Linked DNA regions of Homo sapiens: regions 2, 3, 4, 5, 6 and 7 are each linked to region 1. The links are contacts of gene promoters, found by promoter capture Hi-C in blood cells and fetal thymus (Javierre and others, 2016). All regions are on one chromosome and are shown on one strand. The core of a region is centred on a gene start or on the middle of the fragment in contact, and the rest is flanking DNA. Distances in the headings are between cores, read along the strand shown. Region 1 holds the start of BLOC1S5 (biogenesis of lysosomal organelles complex 1 subunit 5). Region 2 overlaps LYRM4 (LYR motif containing 4). Region 3 overlaps MAK (male germ cell associated kinase). Region 4 holds the start of TMEM14B (transmembrane protein 14B). Region 5 overlaps PAK1IP1 (PAK1 interacting protein 1). Region 6 overlaps C6orf52 (chromosome 6 open reading frame 52). Region 7 overlaps GCNT2 (glucosaminyl (N-acetyl) transferase 2 (I blood group)).

What was found. The method cuts DNA at HindIII sites, captures the fragments that hold promoters and counts their contacts. A CHiCAGO score of 5 or more calls a contact.
Region 2: a contact is called between a fragment that was not itself captured here and the fragment with the promoter of BLOC1S5 in region 1, in 2 of 17 cell types (total CD4 T cells and naive CD8 T cells). The highest score is 6.7, in total CD4 T cells.
Region 3: a contact is called between a fragment that was not itself captured here and the fragment with the promoter of BLOC1S5 in region 1, in 4 of 17 cell types (total CD8 T cells, naive CD8 T cells, total CD4 T cells and 1 more). The highest score is 7.4, in total CD8 T cells.
Region 4: a contact is called between the fragment with the promoter of TMEM14B here and the fragment with the promoter of BLOC1S5 in region 1, in 8 of 17 cell types (non-activated CD4 T cells, naive CD8 T cells, activated CD4 T cells and 5 more). The highest score is 22.9, in non-activated CD4 T cells.
Region 5: a fragment that was not itself captured here is called in contact with the fragment with the promoter of BLOC1S5 in region 1 in 8 of 17 cell types (non-activated CD4 T cells, naive CD4 T cells, naive CD8 T cells and 5 more); the score reaches 32.6 in non-activated CD4 T cells.
Region 6: a fragment that was not itself captured here is called in contact with the fragment with the promoter of BLOC1S5 in region 1 in 6 of 17 cell types (total CD4 T cells, activated CD4 T cells, naive CD8 T cells and 3 more); the score reaches 16.8 in total CD4 T cells.
Region 7: a contact is called between a fragment that was not itself captured here and the fragment with the promoter of BLOC1S5 in region 1, in 5 of 17 cell types (M0 macrophages, non-activated CD4 T cells, total B cells and 2 more). The highest score is 8.2, in M0 macrophages.

Annotation. Positions count from the first base shown.
Region 1 is chr6:8,063,106-8,065,710 of GRCh38, reverse strand. BLOC1S5 (biogenesis of lysosomal organelles complex 1 subunit 5) reads left to right here and starts at 1,322. Exons shown (of 5, transcript NM_201280.3): 1 at 1,322-1,446. The coding sequence starts at 1,335. BLOC1S5-TXNDC5 (BLOC1S5-TXNDC5 readthrough (NMD candidate)) reads left to right here and starts at 1,297. Exons shown (of 13, transcript NR_037616.1): 1 at 1,297-1,446. The region is part of intron 3 of EEF1E1-BLOC1S5 (EEF1E1-BLOC1S5 readthrough (NMD candidate)); the gene reads left to right. RefSeq lists enhancers at 1,689-1,878, 1,488-2,114. The HindIII fragment of the contact is 8,031 bases long and covers 205-2,605 here.
Region 2 is chr6:5,256,048-5,258,652 of GRCh38, reverse strand. All of the region lies in intron 1 of LYRM4 (LYR motif containing 4), which reads left to right. It also overlaps a transcript of FARS2 not described here. Among named protein-coding and RNA genes, the nearest start is that of LYRM4, 3.6 kb to the left of the region's middle. The HindIII fragment of the contact is 3,663 bases long and covers 1-2,605 here.
Region 3 is chr6:10,834,516-10,837,120 of GRCh38, reverse strand. All of the region lies in intron 1 of MAK (male germ cell associated kinase), which reads left to right. Among named protein-coding and RNA genes, the nearest start is that of MAK, 2.7 kb to the left of the region's middle. The HindIII fragment of the contact is 1,245 bases long and covers 665-1,909 here.
Region 4 is chr6:10,746,515-10,749,119 of GRCh38, reverse strand. TMEM14B (transmembrane protein 14B) reads right to left here and starts at 1,315. Exons shown (of 6, transcript NM_030969.5): 1 at 1,239-1,315. It overlaps TMEM14B-DT (TMEM14B divergent transcript), which reads left to right and starts at 1,536. Exons shown (of 2, transcript NR_187231.1): 1 at 1,536-1,659. RefSeq lists silencers at 1,286-1,345, 1,301-1,521, 1,356-1,585 and an enhancer at 1,706-1,755. The HindIII fragment of the contact is 12,296 bases long and covers 1-2,605 here.
Region 5 is chr6:10,703,211-10,705,815 of GRCh38, reverse strand. PAK1IP1 (PAK1 interacting protein 1) reads right to left here. Exons shown (of 10, transcript NM_017906.3): 5 at 2,359-2,411; 6 at 1,164-1,309; 7 at 972-1,069. Among named protein-coding and RNA genes, the nearest start is that of PAK1IP1, 9.5 kb to the right of the region's middle. The HindIII fragment of the contact is 5,983 bases long and covers 1-2,605 here.
Region 6 is chr6:10,680,578-10,683,182 of GRCh38, reverse strand. The region is part of intron 4 of C6orf52 (chromosome 6 open reading frame 52); the gene reads left to right. Among named protein-coding and RNA genes, the nearest start is that of C6orf52, 13 kb to the left of the region's middle. The HindIII fragment of the contact is 4,166 bases long and covers 1-2,605 here.
Region 7 is chr6:10,531,771-10,534,375 of GRCh38, reverse strand. The region is part of intron 3 of GCNT2 (glucosaminyl (N-acetyl) transferase 2 (I blood group)); the gene reads right to left. Among named protein-coding and RNA genes, the nearest start is that of GCNT2, 12 kb to the right of the region's middle. RefSeq lists enhancers at 1-4, 125-374. The HindIII fragment of the contact is 3,081 bases long and covers 1-2,605 here.

The DNA.
Region 1 (2,605 bases), core at 73-2,572:
TCAGTTCTCACCCACGCAGCTTCTCTCTACACATGATGTTTCATTGCTATTCGCTTTACTCCCTCAGGTTTCACAGAATGACTCATAGAACTCAAGAAAGTGCTTTCCTTGCTATTACAGTTTTATTATAAAGGACACATATCAGGACCAGCCAAATGAAGAGATGTATAGGGCGAGATGTGGGAGATTTCCCAAATAGAAGCTTACGTGTCCTCAGGAACGCTTCCCCCTCCTGACACTTTGATGAATGATTATCGACCAGTAAGCTCACCTGAGCTTCCACATCCAGAGTACTCACTGGGGTTCCATTATGTAGGCATAGTTGGTTAAATCACTGGCCACATGGCTGAACTCAGTCTCCAGCCCCAATCTGCTCCCCAGAGGTGGGCCTGCTTATGTGACTCAAAGCCTAAGCCCTCATGGTTGGCCGGCCCTTCTGGTGTGGCCAGCCTCCATTCTGAAATCATCTTGGGCCCTCCATGAGCCATCTCATTAGCATAAACTCAGGTGTATTTCCAGAGGCCCACCATGAATAACAAAGACACTTCTATCACTTGGGAAATTCTAAGGATTGAGGGTACCTCCCAGGAACCAGAGTCAAAGTCCAGTCAAATTCTTTATTATACAACGTGAGTTTACTGACTTGAACAGAAAGAGGGAGCAAGAGAAGCATTCTAGGAAACAGGTGTCTAAAAAGAAAGGCAGGAATAGTCAGCCACACTCATGGCATAGTAGGGAAACAGCCCCCAGCTAATTGGCTTTGCTATACAGTAGTCCCCCCTTATCTGAGGTTTCACTTTCTGTGGTTTCATTACCCGCAGGACGGTACAATAAGATATTTTGGGAGAGAGACTACATTCACATAACTTTTATTAAATTGTTCTAATTGTTCATCTCTTACTGTGCCTAATTTATAAACTTTATCATATGTATATACAGGAAAAAACATAGTATATACATGGTTCAGTACTATATGCAGTTTCAGGAATCTACTGGGGGTCTTGGAATGTATTCTCAGCAGATATGGGAGGACAACTGTACTGGAATGCACCAGCTTTGAGCCAAATAACCAGGGCTCTGAGTTTAGCTCCAAAGTTCAAGCACCTTCCTATTCTAGCAGCATCCGCCCTGATCCAGCATGGCGGCAAGAGCTTCTGCCAGTTCACAGCCTGACTACACGGCAGGCGCCTTTCCGGAACCGCCCGCTGGGTAGATTAAATTTCTCCGGCGCCCTGTAATGACACACACACAAAAAAAACCCGGGCGCGCCTTGTAAGAGGGCGGCCGGGTTTGCGCAGGCGCAGCGTGGCCGCGGGTGGGCGGAACTGGTCGGGATGAGTGGCGGAGGGACAGAGACCCCTGTGGGTTGTGAGGCCGCCCCGGGCGGTGGCAGCAAGAAGAGGGACTCCCTGGGGACTGCGGGCTCAGCGCACCTCATTATCAAGGGTACGGAGTGTCAGGGCTATAGTTCCTGGTGGATCCCAGCACAGCCTCATCTCCCAGGCGGCGCCCTCTGACCCGGGCCGACCCCCGGGTCCCGGGCTGGCGCGCGTGCGTTTGTGCGGGTGGGGGAGTCGTGGTCGGTCCCCGCCTTTTTCCCCGCGCCAAATGCGTCCCACCACAACCAACCAGCCCAACTCTTCGTGTTTCCCCGCTTTCCTCTGTCGCAGCCTGAGCCATCAGGCCCGCCCCCGTCCATTCCGCAAGCTCAGGACCCCTGGGCGCAGAGCCTTTGGGCAGCCTCGCCACCGACGTGTAGTGGAAAGGGCATTGGACCTGGGAGGCGGGAGGCAGTCGCTTAGGAGTTGAGTGACTTCGGGTCACTGGCTTTACTCACTCTCCTACCCGATCTGTTCCTGGTCGTGCGAGGAGTAAGTGAGATACACTTACGAAGGCGCTCTATAGCACTGTAAAGAACCATTCACGTTCAGAAATGTCCATGTGTTCTGTGTGCTTTGAGCTGGGAGAAGGTTACAACCTAGATTCTCACAGAATCTGCTTTAGGTTTGACTCCTAAAGCTCACAACGCTGTTTGCTGCGTGAAAGTCTTTGACAGTTGAGTTGTAGTGCTTTATATATACCAGATATAAAGTGCTTATATACAGTGCTTGTATTATTTTTTCTACTTGACATGCTTAAGAAGATATGTACTAATAAAATTCATTAAAATAGAGAATTGAAACCTGCCCATCGTATGTCTGCAAAAATGAAAAATTTGGGGAACATTGCCAGTGAATGAATATGAATAATACATTGTCTTAGATTTAATTTCTCAAGGAATTTTGAGACTTACATTTTAAACTACATAGTTGTAACTAAGAAGAATAATAAACTGACTCACCAAAAGACTTAAATTCAGACCTTTTCTTAATGACTTTTTCAGACTTATGAAAAAGAGACTTACAATGAACATTCACCACCCACCTTAATAAATAAATTACTAAAAGCCCCACTGTGTCTTGCTCTAATTGCACTAGTTCCCCTCCCTCGTCTCAAGGTAGCCACTATCCAGAATTTGGTGTTTATTATTCTTGTGCATTTCTTTATAGTTTTGTTGCTTCTGTCTATATCCCAAAAGGAAATATTTTGAATATTTTAAAGTTTT
Region 2 (2,605 bases), core at 31-2,530, 2.8 Mb after region 1:
CTGCTATTACCTCCCTAGATAAACTTACTTGTTATAAAAATACGTCCTTTTACATTAAGGCTGTGTCTTGTGAATTTCAGGAAAAGTCCCTTCCCTCCTCTCTAATCTCTGCAGCTGTTTGTCACTGATGGCAAATCAATAGCAACACAACATCCACTATCAATTCTGTGTGCCACTGCTATCTTATGTTCTTCATGTCTATTAACACATTTGTTTTGACAATAATCTTGTGAGGTAGGTACTATTTGTATTACCCTGTAAGGCAACTGAGGCACAGGGAGCTTAAGTTACCTATCAAAACTAACACAGGTAGTGCTGAATAAGCAATCAAAAGCAGACTAGTAAACGTTTTTTAATGACCTGCGAATTGTGCCTTAAGTAATTAGAGTAGTGAAATAAATACTTTGGAACTCTCTTGCAAGACCTATAATATAGGCCACGTTTTGATAGCAGGAGCCCTGTCTGCTCCTCCAGTCTCAGCCTAAGTCCCACATGTGCATCCTGTCCTCTGTCATCATCAGTTGCAGTTTCCTAAATGTGCCACGTCCTGTTGGGCCTCCAGGCCTTTACAAGTACTGTTCTATCCAGCAGGCCCTTTATCACTCCTGTCTAGAGTGCCCCCTCTTCCTTCAAGATTGAGCTCAATTGTCACCTTCTCTGAACAAAAGTTTTCCCAACTCTCTTCATCCCACAGCTTCCACTCCCATCCCTCCCACCAGCCAAACAGGTCTCATTGCTGTGTGTCATTCTTTTACCTCAGTGCTTCTACAAAACATCTCTGAAGCATGCTTTGCCCAGTGCTATATCACAGCTATCCCCAACCTTCTTGGCACCAGGAACCAATTTCATGGAAGACAGTTTTTCCATGGACCGGGTCAAGGGAGGGGATGGTTTCGGGATGAAACTCTTCCACCTCAGATCATCAGGCATTAGATTCTCATAAGGAGCATGCAACCTAGATCACTCACATGCACAGTTCACAATAGGTGCACCTATGAGAATCTAATGCCGCCGCTGATCTGACAGGAGATGGAGCTCAGGCCATAATGCGCACTCACCCACCGCTCAACTGCTGTGTGGCCCGGTTCCTAACAGGCCACGGACCAGTACTGATGGGTTGGGGACCCCTGCTATACCAAGCCCTGGAGAGAGAAAGATGAGATTTTTGAACTAAGCTAGGCACCTGTTATCAATGGCTTTACAGGCCTATGTGGGACACAGGTACAGAGATAGTTGTCACAGACTGGGTTAAGTGCTGTGACAGAAGGATGTACAAGGTGTGGAATCTAGAAGGCCTCCCAAGGGGTGATGTTGGATCAAAGGCATGAAGCAGCTTGGTGTGGTCAGGCAGGCAAACAGCACAGCACTGCCAGGGAGGTAAGTATGATGGGGTTGGGGGGGCGGTGACAGGAAGGCACTGAGGTTGGAGAGGGCCACTGATTTGAGGGCCTGGGGGCCGTGCTGAGGACCCTGGACTTTACCCTTAGCTCACAGGCAGCCACTAACCTGACATGACCAGATTTGCATTTTCTGATAGATCACTCTGGCAGCAGTGTAGAAGATGATTTTGAGGGGCCAAGGACATCAAATGGGAGTTGATTACAACAGTGCAGAGTAGAGATTAGGACGCTAGTAAGGACAGGAATAGTGGAAGATAGAGAAGAATGTTGTATTTGATAAATCATTAGAAGGGAAAATTGTTGGAACTGGAATGATTGGATTGAGGACTAAGGAAGAAGAGAATCCAAGCAGAGTCTAGAATGGCATCCAGGTTTCTGGTTAAGCTAAAGCACAGAGAGGGTGAATTTAAACTTGCACCATTAACTGACTCAGGTAATACAGAACTAGCTGGTCTTGTGGAGAGAGGGTTTTTTAGTTCATATTTAGGGTATCTTGGGTGTAAATTTCCCCTGGGATGCCCAGCAGAGGTAGTTAATCACAGGGCTCTGAAGCTCAGAGGAGTGATGAGCACTGCAGTAGTCAGCACCACCAACTCTGTGTGACCCCACGCAAGTCACATCACTCTCTGTTCTGCAGTTTCTTTATAAAATGAGAGTCATAATTGATCCATCTCACACAGTGTAAAAGGGTCCTGAGACCAATAAGTTTAAGAACCACATTCTTTTTTTTTTTTTTTTTTTTTTTTTTTTTTTTTTTTTTTCCAGTTGAAATCTTGCCCTTGTTGCCCAGGCTGGAGGGCAATGGTGCGATCTTGGCTCACTGCAACCTCCACCTCCCAGGTTCAAGCAATTCTTCTGCCTCAGCCTCCCGAGTAGCTGGGATTACAGGTGCCTGCCACTACGCCTGGCTAATTTCTGTATTTTTAGTAGAGGCGGGGTTTCACCATATTGGCCAGGCTGATCTTGAACTCCTGACCTAAGGTGATCCGCCCACCTCGGCCTCCCAAAGTGCTGGGATTACAGGCATGAGCCACCGCGCCTGGCCAAGAACCACATTCTTAAATTTTGTCTTCTTGGCTCTTCTTCAGCCAACTCCTTCAATTCTGATGTTCCCTAGAATAGCATCCGTAGCCACTAATTTTCTCACCTTAAACTAGGATTTCTCAATCTTGGCATGACCAACCTTTTGGGCCAGCTAATTCTTT
Region 3 (2,605 bases), core at 38-2,537, 2.8 Mb before region 1:
AGACATCCAAGCCTTATCTCTTCAGTTTTTGGCAGACGCTTGTTTTACCCTTCATTTGCCCTCTTTGCTAATCTTCTTTAATCCTATCTGAATCTCTTATTAGCTGGCAAAAGCTGTTGAGAGTAAAGGCTATATTTACAACAATTGTGCACTTAGAGAAACGGTAATTATGAACTTAGATTAAAAAGTTGAAAACTAGAATGAGAGATAAATTATAAGGGTATTTATTTTTGTGTAGGTCTATAATTAAGCCTCTAAATAAGCATCTTTTTCTTTAACCCATAGGAAGGTCAATAAATGTTATAGCTTGATTGTAGAAAATTCCAAGTTTTTAACAATTCTGTTAAATTGAGGATGATAGTTATATTTACTTGGGTTTTTTGTTGCATATGTATCATATCTATATATATTCATGTACATAAGAAACTGTGTTAATATATTCCTATTTTGTAGATTAGTTTTCCATAGGTCAACAGAGAAGAATATATGTAACTTGTAGAGAAATATTATTGTGCGTGAACTGGAGAACCATGGGAAGCCTGTGTTTAAGGAACATAGACTGCTTTTTGATTAGTAATCAGTAGTTGCTATGCCACATTGATAAAAGTAGTTGCTTATGTGCTATCAGGGAGCAGGGACATGGAATAATGATTTTTTAAAAGCTTTACCTTGATGTCTATGTCTCTACATTAGACAATTGTATGTTCAGGGGATAGAAGGAACAGTTGCAATGATCAGCGTCTCACCCTGGGCAGCTGTTGATTTTGTAATTAATGTAGTTCAAAAGAAGCCTTTCCAAAGTTTTTTCTTAGGGAGCGCAGTATGTAAAGTTGTTTTACTTAAAGGTTAGGTAGGGCTTAAATGGGACAGATCCTCACAGAACCACTAATCTGACCTTTTAAAAATCTATGTCACGTCCGTAATCCTCAACACTCCACCCCTCAAACAGAAAGGAGCTGGGAAATGGTCGTGTTCCTTGCTTATTCTTCCCTCAATATAAGTACACCCTATCCTATAGCCATCATCCGTTGAAAGACAATTGGTGTTGCCGGTGTTTATTCAGAAGTTGATTGGTTAGGCTTGGAATGAAGTTGCCAAAATAGCCACTCGCAAAGAGACTGTGCACGCAGGCTTGGGTCGAAAGTCATCAGTGACTGAATGCTCTATTGTGCTGATAGTGCTGGTGCAGCTTCAGGTCACCCTCCCACCCCAGGGCGGTGGTGATGGGGGTGGCTGATGGCCTTAATAGTGGAAGAGAGAGGTGTAATTAATTCTTAATTTTTAGATTGTTGGGCCAATGAAGGTGATTTTTTTGTCACTCTTTGTGTTTCCACTTCCTGAATAACACTCGCTACCATCATTACCATGCAACCAGAGGCAGCTCCCTCTTCCATTCCCTTCTCAAGTCATATGTCCTTTTTCAGAATTGTCTGCATTACTTTTCTACCTTTTAGACCCTCAAATGCTTGTCCTTGGTTAGGTGTTAACATGAAAATAATTTGGTTAAAAGAAAAGATGATGCTATCATACCATTATGTTTCTGAATTAAATAATTTTCATGGCTGGGCGCAGTGGCTCACGCCTATAAACCCCAGCACTTTGGGAGGCCGAGGCAGGTGGATCACATGAGGTCAGGAGTTCAAGACCAGCCTGGCCAACGTGGTAAAACCCTGTCTCTACTAAAAATACAGAAATTAGCCGGGCATGGTGGCACGCGCCTGTAATCCCAGCTACTCAGGAGGCTGAGGCAGGAGAGTCCCTTGAACCTGGGAGGCGGAGGTTGCAGTGAGCAGAGATAACGCCACCACACTCCAGCCTGGGCATCCGAGCTGTAGGAGATTGGTCAGGGTGGTGGGAAAAATCGTAGAAAGATGCAAACCTTCTTGGAAGGCCAGGGGTTTGCAAAGCTTCAAAAGAAAATTTGGCTGAAGGCAGCTGAATTCTCTTAAGAGCTTAGGTTAGATAACAAGGGGATGTAAAGAAACTAATCTAGATAAGTTAGTTTACTTAGGCCTCAGAACCTGGCCTTTAATCATCCAGACGCAGGACTGCGTGGGGCGGGGGAGCGGTGCGACCATGTTAATTACCCACAAGTGTGTTAACTCAAAGCCTTTGTCATTAAATCTGTGCTGAATAAATGCCCACAGCGCCAGCTGAGCAGGGCCACGGTTTACAGCACCCTCCTGGGGTCTGTGTGCTGCCCGGTCCCCTAGCCCGCTCTTTCACTGGATACCTGTGTCTGAGTGCATTCTTTGATCTGTCATTCAGCCAGGGTCTGCGGGTCGGACCTGGCACAGAGTGAGACTCTGTCTCAAACAATAATAATAATAATAATAATAATTTTCATGAGAGGAGCACCACCTAGATTCTTTCTCCCTTAACCATTCAAGTTCTAAGGTCTCACTCTTTCCCTTCACTGTTTCTGTTATTTTTCACTGGTCTGAATGACCCAGATGTAGCATTAGGGTTTAGTCAGGATATGGAGTAGTCCCACTTCACTTTCCAGGTAGTCAGCAATATCTTAGTGTTTGAGTGAAGAGCTGCATTAGGAATCTTAAGGTGGAGGTTGGGGTAGGTGGCTTGAGTTGTGGAGCTTAGTCTGTGT
Region 4 (2,605 bases), core at 66-2,565, 2.7 Mb before region 1:
ATGCAACCTAAGTCTCAGTATCCTTCACTGTACCATGAGGATAACACTGGTACCAATTTCCTGGGGGTGTTGTGAGCATTCAATGGATGTCACATGTAAAGGTGCTTAGCACCTAGTAAACCCTGAACAGATGCCGATCATTTCACATAGGTCCACAGGAAACTCAGCAAGATCCACTGACCAGCTCTATAATCAGGGAATGTGTTAGTCATTTCATTAAGCACTCACATTATCACTAAATCGGAAAGCAAATACTCCCGTGCCCTTAATCCAACTACTTTAATGTCTCTTTTGAGGGGTGGTAGGGATGTTGCTTTTCTTCACTGATGCAACAGCCAATTTCAATACTCAATTTTTTTTTTTAGAAACTTCTGCATCCAACTCACAGTTCTCGTTAGGAGGGCAGAAGGGGAGGGTAAAATACACGGAAACTCAAGTCAGAATCACATGTGACATTGCACCCTTGGAAAAACAGCTCCTATTTTCTTACAGAAAAGTATTCTGTATGCAGTGAACCTAACAAGATGGAAAGCAATGCATACGCCGTTTATTCTGTTTAAAGAATTAGGCCAGGCAAAGTGGCTCACGCCTGTAATCCCAGTACTTTGGGAGGCCCAGGCAGGCGGATTACCTGAGGTTAGGAGTTCGAGAACAGCTTGGTCAACATGGTGAAACCCATATTCTATTAAAACACACACACACACACACAAATCGGGCATGATGGCATGCACCTGTAATCCCAGCTACTTGGGAGGCTGAGGTGGGAGGATGGCTTGAGCCCAGGAGGCAGAGGCTGCAATAAGACATATTCAGGCTACTGCACTCCAGGCTGGGCGACACAGCGAGAACCCCTCCCCACCCCCCAAAAAAAGAAAGAATTAATTTCCCATAAAACGGGGAAGGGCAGCGGGCTTGGGATCTTGCCCACAGTTCTTAACTCGAGGCGGCACTGAGTAAGGGAGGCTTTTAAAGAGCTGGAGCAACAAAACCACCAGGAAACGAGGCAACACTATGCTACAAGGGTAAGCCTTTGCCTCAGGAGCTCAGGTGCTCCGAGCATCCACAGCCTCTTTTAAGACAAGCAGAAAATACCCAAGGAGAAAAGCACCGACCACACGGCATAAAGGCCCGCTGAATCGGGGGGACGAAAAGCAGACGGCCGTGAAACTCCTAAATAATCCCTAAAAGTTAAAAGTGGCAGAAAATAAAAACAATACTCTCCAAAGACCTGCACCGACCTGCCGAAGGCCCGCGGAGTCCACTACGGAGCGCAAGCCGCGGGACACAGCAGCCAGGTCTCTCCGGAAACGCGATTGCGTGCGCGCTGCGCCCCGGGGCCGCGGCAGGGCGGGGAGAAAGGCGGGACGTCGTGGCGCGTGCGCAGTGTCCTTGGAGAGAGGTGAGCGGAGAATGGGGACAGTGGGGGCGGGGCTTGAGCCGCGGATTACCAGCACGCGCCCTGCATCCCGGGGGCGGGGAGTGAGGCGGGGCATCGCGGCTAGCGCCGTTGGCGGGGAACCGGGCGGGGAATCTCTGTGCTTCCTCAGTCCCCAGGCCCAGCACCTGCAGGGCCGACCAGCTCCAGTCCCAGGTCCAATCCTGAGTGGCCAAAAGCCGGAAACCCGGAGTTGGAATTGGATCTTGCACAAGCTGGACCACGTAAGCTGGGCCAGGCCAGAGGTGGAGGCCACCGCTGCGGGAGGAGGGCATCTGATGATTTTGAAGGACCCCATTAATAGAGGGTATAAACCAGGTGCGGGCCATCAGGGAGGATTGTCACTCTGGCCCGATCTTGTTTGTTTACACCAGGAAGGGCCTGCCTTCCACCTGCAAGAAAATATGGCAGCTGCAGAATAATGTGGCGCAATGCCAAATATCCGTTTGTTTTAGGGAGTGAGGCTACTTGAGAAGCATCTTAAATGGGGAGAGAGAGCAAGTTAAATCTGATTTCCACGCAGCTCTGTGGATTCCGAATGTCCACAGTATGATGTTATCTCCATTCCCACTTCCGAGCCGCTCCTCTTCTGTGTTTCCTGCACCACCATTCGCTCAGTTGCTCTACACTAAAATTTGCTGTCATCGTTGACTTCTCCCTCTCCTTCATCCCCTACAAGTATCAACATAGACAACTCCGATCAATATAATCATCAGTGAATAAAGCAAATTGCAGCGCATATTCTTAAAGACAAACTTTCCACTTGCAGCAGCACCTACCTTCCAGATAGCTAAATTGAAGCCCGTGTTTATCATAGCTGCTTCTAACCAGCCAGAGCTGATAATAACTAAGAACTTGCAGGAATTGCAGTATGCCAGACCTTCAATTTAATTGAAGACTTTCCTGAACAATTAATGAGACTTGTCTTAACCAGCAGGGAATGGCTTTAGGGACTCATTCTTCCCTATGCAGGTGCAAGCCTCAAACCTTAATTAGGATCATCCACCATGATCCTCGAGCCCTTCCCCACCTTATACTTGAAGAGGCTGAACCTCAGAGAATTAAATTACCTACAGTCCTGGTCACTGGTAGAGCTATTATTTAAAGTAAGGTCTAATGTCAAAGCCTGCGTCCTTAATTCTACCATATGCTGCTTCTTGCAGTGTCGTT
Region 5 (2,605 bases), core at 61-2,560, 2.6 Mb before region 1:
ATTAAGACTCATTTGAGACATAGAACATGCAAATGGATCACATCAAAATCTAACTCTGTATATTAGATCACCTTTTTCAAAATTACTGGAGAAAGCAGGGATATAAGAGTCAGATAAAACCGGGTTCAGCTCTCAGCTCCACTATTGGGGTAATATTGGCCAACCACTTAACTACTTACTTTGAGACTATCTACCCCCTAGAAATAGAGAAAGCATTAAAAGGTAATAAAAGCTGGCACAAAACAGGAACTCAATAACGTCAATTCACTTCTCCTGCAGGAAAAAAAATCACATGGAAAGGGGGAAGAAGTAGGCAAGGGGACTTATGTAAAAGGACAAAAGTAGATGGGAACAAAGCTCAAGATTGTTTAGTCTTTTGTTTGTTCAAATATGCTTGATTTCAGGCTCCAAGTCTAACAGACATTTAAAAAATACCTTGTGTAAATGACAGTCCAGAAAACAATTTCACCACTTTTGCATTATTATTATTATTTTTTTTGAGACAGAGTCTCACTCTGTCACCAGGTTGGAGTGCAGTGGTGCGATCTTGGCTCACTGCAACCTCCGCCTCCAGGGTTCAAGTGATTCTCCTGCCTCACCCTCTCGAGTAACTGGGACTACCAGCGTGCACCACCACACCAATTTTTTTATTTTTAGTAGAGACGGGGTTTCACCATGTTGGCCAGGATGGTCTTGATCTCTTGACCTCCTGATCCGCCCGCCTCAGCCTCCCAAAGTGTTGGGATTACAGGCGTGAGCTACTGCTCCCGGCCCACTTTTGCATTATTAAATGCCAGGAAGATAACATCTTCCACCACCTTATTAGACTACAGATACCATATACTGTACATGTAGATATGTCTGATTATTTCTGCAGTTGTTAATAAAAACATATAACCTGGCTTATGAAACTACTGCATATATACCTTTTATTAAGACTAGACATATACACCAAAGATTGGTAAAAATACCTGTTTTCATGAGCTTTAAATTCGCAGAGGCACACTAGTGAATCACAGTCAAAAAACCTTATAACTTCTTCATCTCCAGCCACTGCAAGGACAGACTCCTAGGAGAGAGGAAAAAGAGTAATAACATCCAGAATGTCATCAACAGTTCCAACCATCACCACAAACTTTGGTCAATGATTTCTGATTACTTACTGAAAGAAATTTAACAGAGGAAATTCTCTTTTCATTTGTGATGGTGCCACTAATGGATGCAGTGTCAAGCTGATAGATGTCTATTTTATTCTGTATGATAACTACATACTGCTCTCCTCTTGGGGACCATTCTACTATGTGAGCATCTGTAAGTGGAAAAAAACGAAGTTTATTTATTTTGTAAATAAAACATAAAATGATCATAGTAATAAAAATAGCAAATATTTATACTGTGCATTTTCAAATTCATTATCCTATTTCATCTTCGTAACACATTTTACAAGTCAAGTTTTTTAGAAAATAATCTAGGTTCAAAAAGTCAAAGGTGGGCCAGGTGCAGTGGCTCACACCTGTAATGCCAGCACTTTGGGAGGCCAAGGTGGGTGGATCACTTAAGGCCAGGAGTTTGAGACCAGCCTGGCAAACATGGTGAAACCCCATCTCTCTACCAAAAAATACAAAAAATTAGCCAAGCATGGTGGCACGCGCCTGTAATCCCAGCTGCTTGGGAGGGTGAGGCAGGAGAATAACGAACTCAGAAGGCAGAGGTTGTAGGGAGCTGAGATAGCGCCACTGCACTCCAGCCTGGGTGATAGAGCGAGACTCCATCTCAAAAAATAAAATAAAATAAAAAATATAAAATAAAATAAAATGAAACAAAATAAAAATCAAAGGCAGGTGGCAGAGCCACAAAAAGAATCTAGTCTAAAATGGGAAAAGAAAGTAACCCAAGGCATTTGCTCAGAGGTAACCACCACCATGCAGGGAAATAAATGTGTAACATACACACATGTAAAAATGTATATCTATATTCATATTCCATTAAGTCACTGTAAAATATACAGGTTGAGTATCCCTTATCCAAAATGCTTGGGACCAGAACGATTTTGGATTTTGGAATATCTGCATATATACAATGAAATATCTCGAGGATAAAACCCATGCAACTCATGTTTCAAGTCTAAACATGAAATTCATCTATGCTTCATATACACCTAGCCGGAAGGTAATTTTACACAATATTTTAAATAATTTTGTGTATGAAACAAGGTTCTGACTGTGACCCATCATGAGGTAAGGTGTTGAATTTTCTACTTGAGGCACCACATCAGTGCTCAAAAAGTTTCAGATTTTGGAGCATTTCAGATTTCCAGATTAGGAATGCTCAACCTGCATTTCAAACAAAAATACTCACTTTGTTTTATATTTTTTATGAATGCTGATCTTCCTTCTACAAGATTCCACGTTCTGCAAAACAGGAAGCTCACTTACGGTGTGATCACCAACTAACTTTTACTAAGCGTAAAAGAACAAGCATAATGAAGACTTAAGTGACATTTTACTAAATATTGGCTATTTAGAAGACCTGCTATCTTCCTTACAGCAATATTTTGAAATATTATGAGGCAGGATTAAGACTTGCTTCATTCCCATATCCCTTT
Region 6 (2,605 bases), core at 44-2,543, 2.6 Mb before region 1:
CATAAACCTTGTGCTGAAGTGGTTGGAAACAAAACCCCATTTCCTGGTTTCTCATTCACTCAGCTTGCTAGAAACTGGAAGGTTCTATTGGAAAATTCCAATGTAGGTTGCCTAAGCCATATGCTTCAGTAATTTCTCCTGTTTTTAGAAACTGGTTCTATGGGAACAACTTTAACTAAGCCACCTCTTTGGGCCTTTCTGAAGGACTGAGAAAGGGGGACATTCCCAAACAGTAAGAAGACAATACATTGTTCTTAAGCTCCATTTCCTCTGTAAGTTTAGACTTTGAGGAGAATTATGCTTTAATTCTCTTTTTCAAGGGGGAAGAGCATGAGGTGATTGCTGTGGCCTCAGGGTTATTGGATCCTGGGGTACCTGACAGAGCAGCACTGTAGTGTCAGTCTGGTGGTGCTTCCTGTACTTCTCAATTTGTTTTGGAAAGAACAAAGTTTGCCTGCCTAGAGACAAACACTCTGAATGTGTCTTATTTGAGGAAGGGGAAAAAATGTTTTGCTTCTTTTAAGTAATGGGAAAGAAAAATAGAGGAGAAATGCAGAGAACACTATTGCCTTTTTCTTATCACATGTCTGTCTTATCACATGTTTGTCTAATCTCTCTCTTGCCCAAACCCCTGCCCCTACCAGACAAACCCACCCACTGCCTTTATGACTTTATCAAAGAAGGGAGCATGTTGTTATCAGTCTTTGTAGGCCCTGTTACTAATTCAGAGAGTTCACATGTCAGTAGGTGCTCAGTGTTTAAATTAAATCAAATTGGTGTTGAAAAGAAATGTTTATATGCTGTTGAGCAGTTGTAGTTTTTAGTACTTTGATTTAAACATGAGTAAAGGGTGCTTATTTCAACTTTGTGGGATTTCTTTCAGATTAAGTGTGAGTCTTTCTTCCTGCCTTTTATCAGTTATGCAATTTATTAAAATTGATGCAGGATTTCTTGCTCCTTAGTTCAGCTAAATCTGGGTCCTTGTCTCACAACCAGGAAAAATTAGGCATGTGGATACATTGAAGGGTGAGGAGGATGGAATTTATTAAGTGAAAGGAAAGCTCTTAACAAAAAGAGGGATCCCAAACACAGGTTTCCACCTCACAAATTGAATACCAGGCCATCACATACGAGTTGAAAAGGCCAGGCTCCTCCCCTGCATAAGGTGTGAATTCCTGGTGACTCCTCCTCATTCTTCCAATGTGCACGTGGGCCCTTAGTCTGAGCCACTCCACATTGATTTATTTCCCTTATTGCACATGTGTTAAAAGATGGAATTTTTCACCGTGGGCATGTTTAGCCAAGCCCCCTGTGCACAATGACTTGGGCAGGTTGGAGGTTCTCCAGGGACCTTACCCTATTTGCCTAGGCATTTGGCTGTCCCATGCCTCTATCAAAATAATAGAGGTAAAAGTCTGCTTTTTGGATACAGATTGCCACGGGGTTCAGATTCTACCTACTAGCTCTGTAATTCCAGACAAATTAATCTCTAGTGTGTCTGCTTCAGTTTCTGTAAAGTGGGGACATTGATACCTTTCTTATAGGAAGTGTGGGTATGCTAGGTCTACAGTACTTTTAGGTGGTTAAACAGCTGCTGCCATATCATAAACACTCAAGTATTGGCTGGTCATCAATCTGGCACAGTACTGGTCAGTAGAAATGTAATGCAGTTGCACCTCAAGGAGCTAGAAGAACAAGAACAAAGTAAACCCAAAATTAGTAGAAGAAAAGAAATAATAAAGACTATAGCAAAAATAGATAGAAACTAGAAAAACAATACAAAAGATCAACAAAATGAAGGGTTGGTTTCTTTAAAAGATAGTCAACAAACCTTTAAGAACAAAAGAAACTCAAAATCAGATGAAAAAGGAGACATTACAACTGATATCACAGAAATACAAAGGAACATAAAAGACAATTATGAACAATTATACATCAGTAAATTGGATAACATAGAAGAAATGAGTAAATTCCTGGACACATACAATCTACCACCTACCAAGATTAAATTATGAAGAAATAGAAAACCTGAACAGACCAATAATAAGGAATTGAAACAGTAATAAAAAGTTTCCCATCAGGCCAGGCCTGGTGGATAATGCCTATAATCCCAAGCACTTCGGGAGGCTAATAGGGGAGGATCATTTGAGCCCAGGGGCTTGAGACCAGACTTGGCAATACAGTGAGACCTTGTCTCTACAAAAAATTTAAAAAAATAACTGGGTATGGTAGCATGTACCTATAGTCCCAAATATTTGAGAGGCTGAGATAGGAGGATTGCTTGTGCCCAAAAGACTGAGGCTTAAGTGAGCTATGAATGTGCCACTGCATGTCAGCCTGGGTGACAGAGTGAGACCCTGTCTCAAAAAAAAGTCTCCCATCAAAGAAAAGCCCAGGTCCTGATGGCCTGTTTAATTCTACCAAACATTTATTTTTCATTTTATTTTATTTTTTGTAGAGGTGGAGTCTCACTTTGTTGCTCAGGTTGGTCTCAAACTCTTAGGCTCAAGCGATCCTCCCAGCTCTGCCTCCCCAAGGGCTGGAATTACAGGCCTGAGTCACCATGCCCAGCCCCCAGATATTTAAAGAAGAACTAATGCCATGT
Region 7 (2,605 bases), core at 1-2,500, 2.5 Mb before region 1:
TCACCTGAGGTCAGAAGACTAGCCTGGCCAACATGGTGAAACCCCGTCTCTACTAAAAATGCAAAAATTAGCCAAGCGTGGTGTCATGCACCTGTAATCCCTGGTGCTGCGGAGGCTGAGACAGGAGAATTGCTTGAACCCAGGAGGAGGAGGTTGCAGTGAGCCAAGATGACATCACTGCACTCCAGCCTGGGTGACAGAGCGAGACTCCATCTTAAAAAAAAAAAAAAAAAAGAGCAGCATGGAATCTGGCAGATACCAGGGGAAGACATAGGAAGTAGAACCCACAGGGTGGAGGAGCCCATAAACCAGGGGAAGTGCTGAAGCACAGGCAAGAATTTCAAATAAAGTAGAAGCAGGCAAAGCAAAACCAGCAGAGGTGGAGACTCTGCGACATGAGGACGGCCAACGTCTCGGTGCTGCTAGGGCGGCAGAGCCTGACCACTGCACCAGCAATGAGGATGCGTGGTCCACCTCCCCTGCCTGTGGTCGCAGCCACAGGCCACAAGTAAAAGTGATGTTTCAAACTGAGTTAAATAAAATACATTCTTTTTTTTTTTTTTTTTTTTTTTTTTGAGACAGAGTCTTGCTCTGTCACCCAGGCTGGAGTACAGTGGCATGATCTCAACTCACCACAACCTCTGCCTCCTGGTTCTCCTAAATCGCTGAAGCGATTCTCCTGCTTCAGTCTCCCGAGTAGCTGGGGTTACAGGCACAAGCTACCACGCCTGGCTAGTTTTTTGTATTTTTAGTAGAGTTGGGGTTTCACCATGTTGGCCAGGCTGGTCTCAAACTCCTGACCTCAAGTGATCCGCCCACCTCGGCTCCCCAAAGTGCTGGGATTACAGGCGAGAGCCACCACACCTGGCATAAAATACATTCTTTAAATTCATATTATCTGCTTCTTTTTACTTCTTTTAATGTGGCTCCTGGAAAATCTAAAATTTGATTTTAGATCTATGGCTCCCATTATAGCATTCCTATTGGGCAGTGCTGTTCTCCCTTCCCATGAGACCACTTCAGCTGTGAGATGTTTTTCTGGACTAATTTTTTTTTAAATTTTTATTTCTGAGATGGAGTCTCACTCTGTCGCCCAGACGCGAGTGCAGTGGCAGGATCTTGGCTCACTGCAACCTCCGCCTCCCAGGCTGAAGTGATTCTCCTGCTTCAGCCTCCCGAGTAGCTGGGATTACAGGCACGTGCCACCACACCCGGCTAATTTTTGTATTTTTAGTAGAGATAGGTTTCACCATGTTGGCCAGGCTGGTCTTGAACTCCTGACTTCAGGCGATCCACCCAGCTCAGCCTCCCAAAGTGCTGGGATTACAGGCGTGAGCCACCACACCTGGCCTGGACTAGTTACTTTACAGAATCCTAATCATAATCCCTCAATCATGACAATGAATTGGAACAATCTCAAAATGTCCCTCGCACACCTGCCAAAAAAAAAAAAAAAAAAAAGCAAAAACCACAACATATACACATCAACCAGAAGGACCCTTACAACGGAAAATGGCTCAGATCTCCACATAGCCGGAATAATAATTAAACAAGACAACCCTTAGGTTTCTAATTCCCTAACCTCCTACATTCAGCCCTGCCTCAGGTCAGGAAAGAGTTGGCAGGGCTTGCCCGATGTGGTGGCTCACGAGGCTGAGGCAGGAGGATCGCTTGGGCCCAGGAGTTCAAGACCAGCACTGGCAACACAGCAGGACCTCGTCTCTACAAAAGTTAAAGTTAGCCAGGCATGGGGGCACATGCCTGTAGTCCCAGCCTCTTGGAAGGCTTGAGCCTGGGAGGTCAAGACCAGCACGGGCTGGGTGCTGTGTGGCTCACACCTGTAATCCCAGCACTTTGGGAGGTTGAGGCCGTGAGCCGTGATTGTGCCACTGCACTCCAGCCTGGATGACAGAGTGAGATCCAAAAAAAGAAAAAAAAGAGTTGGCAGAGCTGGTCAGGGTCCTCCGGCAGTGTTCCTCCACACACATAACACAGAAATGACTTCAGGGGCTAACTTTTGTTAAGTTTCTGAAAAACATGAATTGGTGCATTTGTTTTCTATTGCTTTGCCAATCTGTTACTGCTAACACGGGGTGTAAAAATCCAGCTCCAATAGATACATCGAGTCGAGAAGTCAGGGGGTTTCCCTTAAGTTTCTGTTGAGTCCCCTGATTAGGATCACAGACTCTGAGAGTGGGAAGGGACTCGGAGGCCATCCGGTCCAATCCTTGAGGTTTCCTCAGCAGCACTTCCCCAGCCCTGCTTCCCTTGGCTTTGCTCACCATTGAGGAAGCTGCCCGTTTTATTCCCAGCTCCATGTGTTCTCATCTCCCACCCGCTGGCCCTAGATTCTACTTCCAAAACGACAGAGTTGGTCTAATTTCTCTTTCCTGAGCAAATCTTTTAATTAGGTAAAGACACCGATCCCTCTTCAAGTCTTTTCCAAATCAATTATCCTTTTTCTTTGTCTTGGTCTTCTCTAAAAAAAAAAAAAAAAAAAAGTGGGGATTGGCCTTTTTACCTCCCTGGCTGCTCTCTTTGGAACTGCTGTGTCAATGTCTCCCCGTATAGTAGGGTGGCCAGACCTGAAGAGTCTACATCCTAC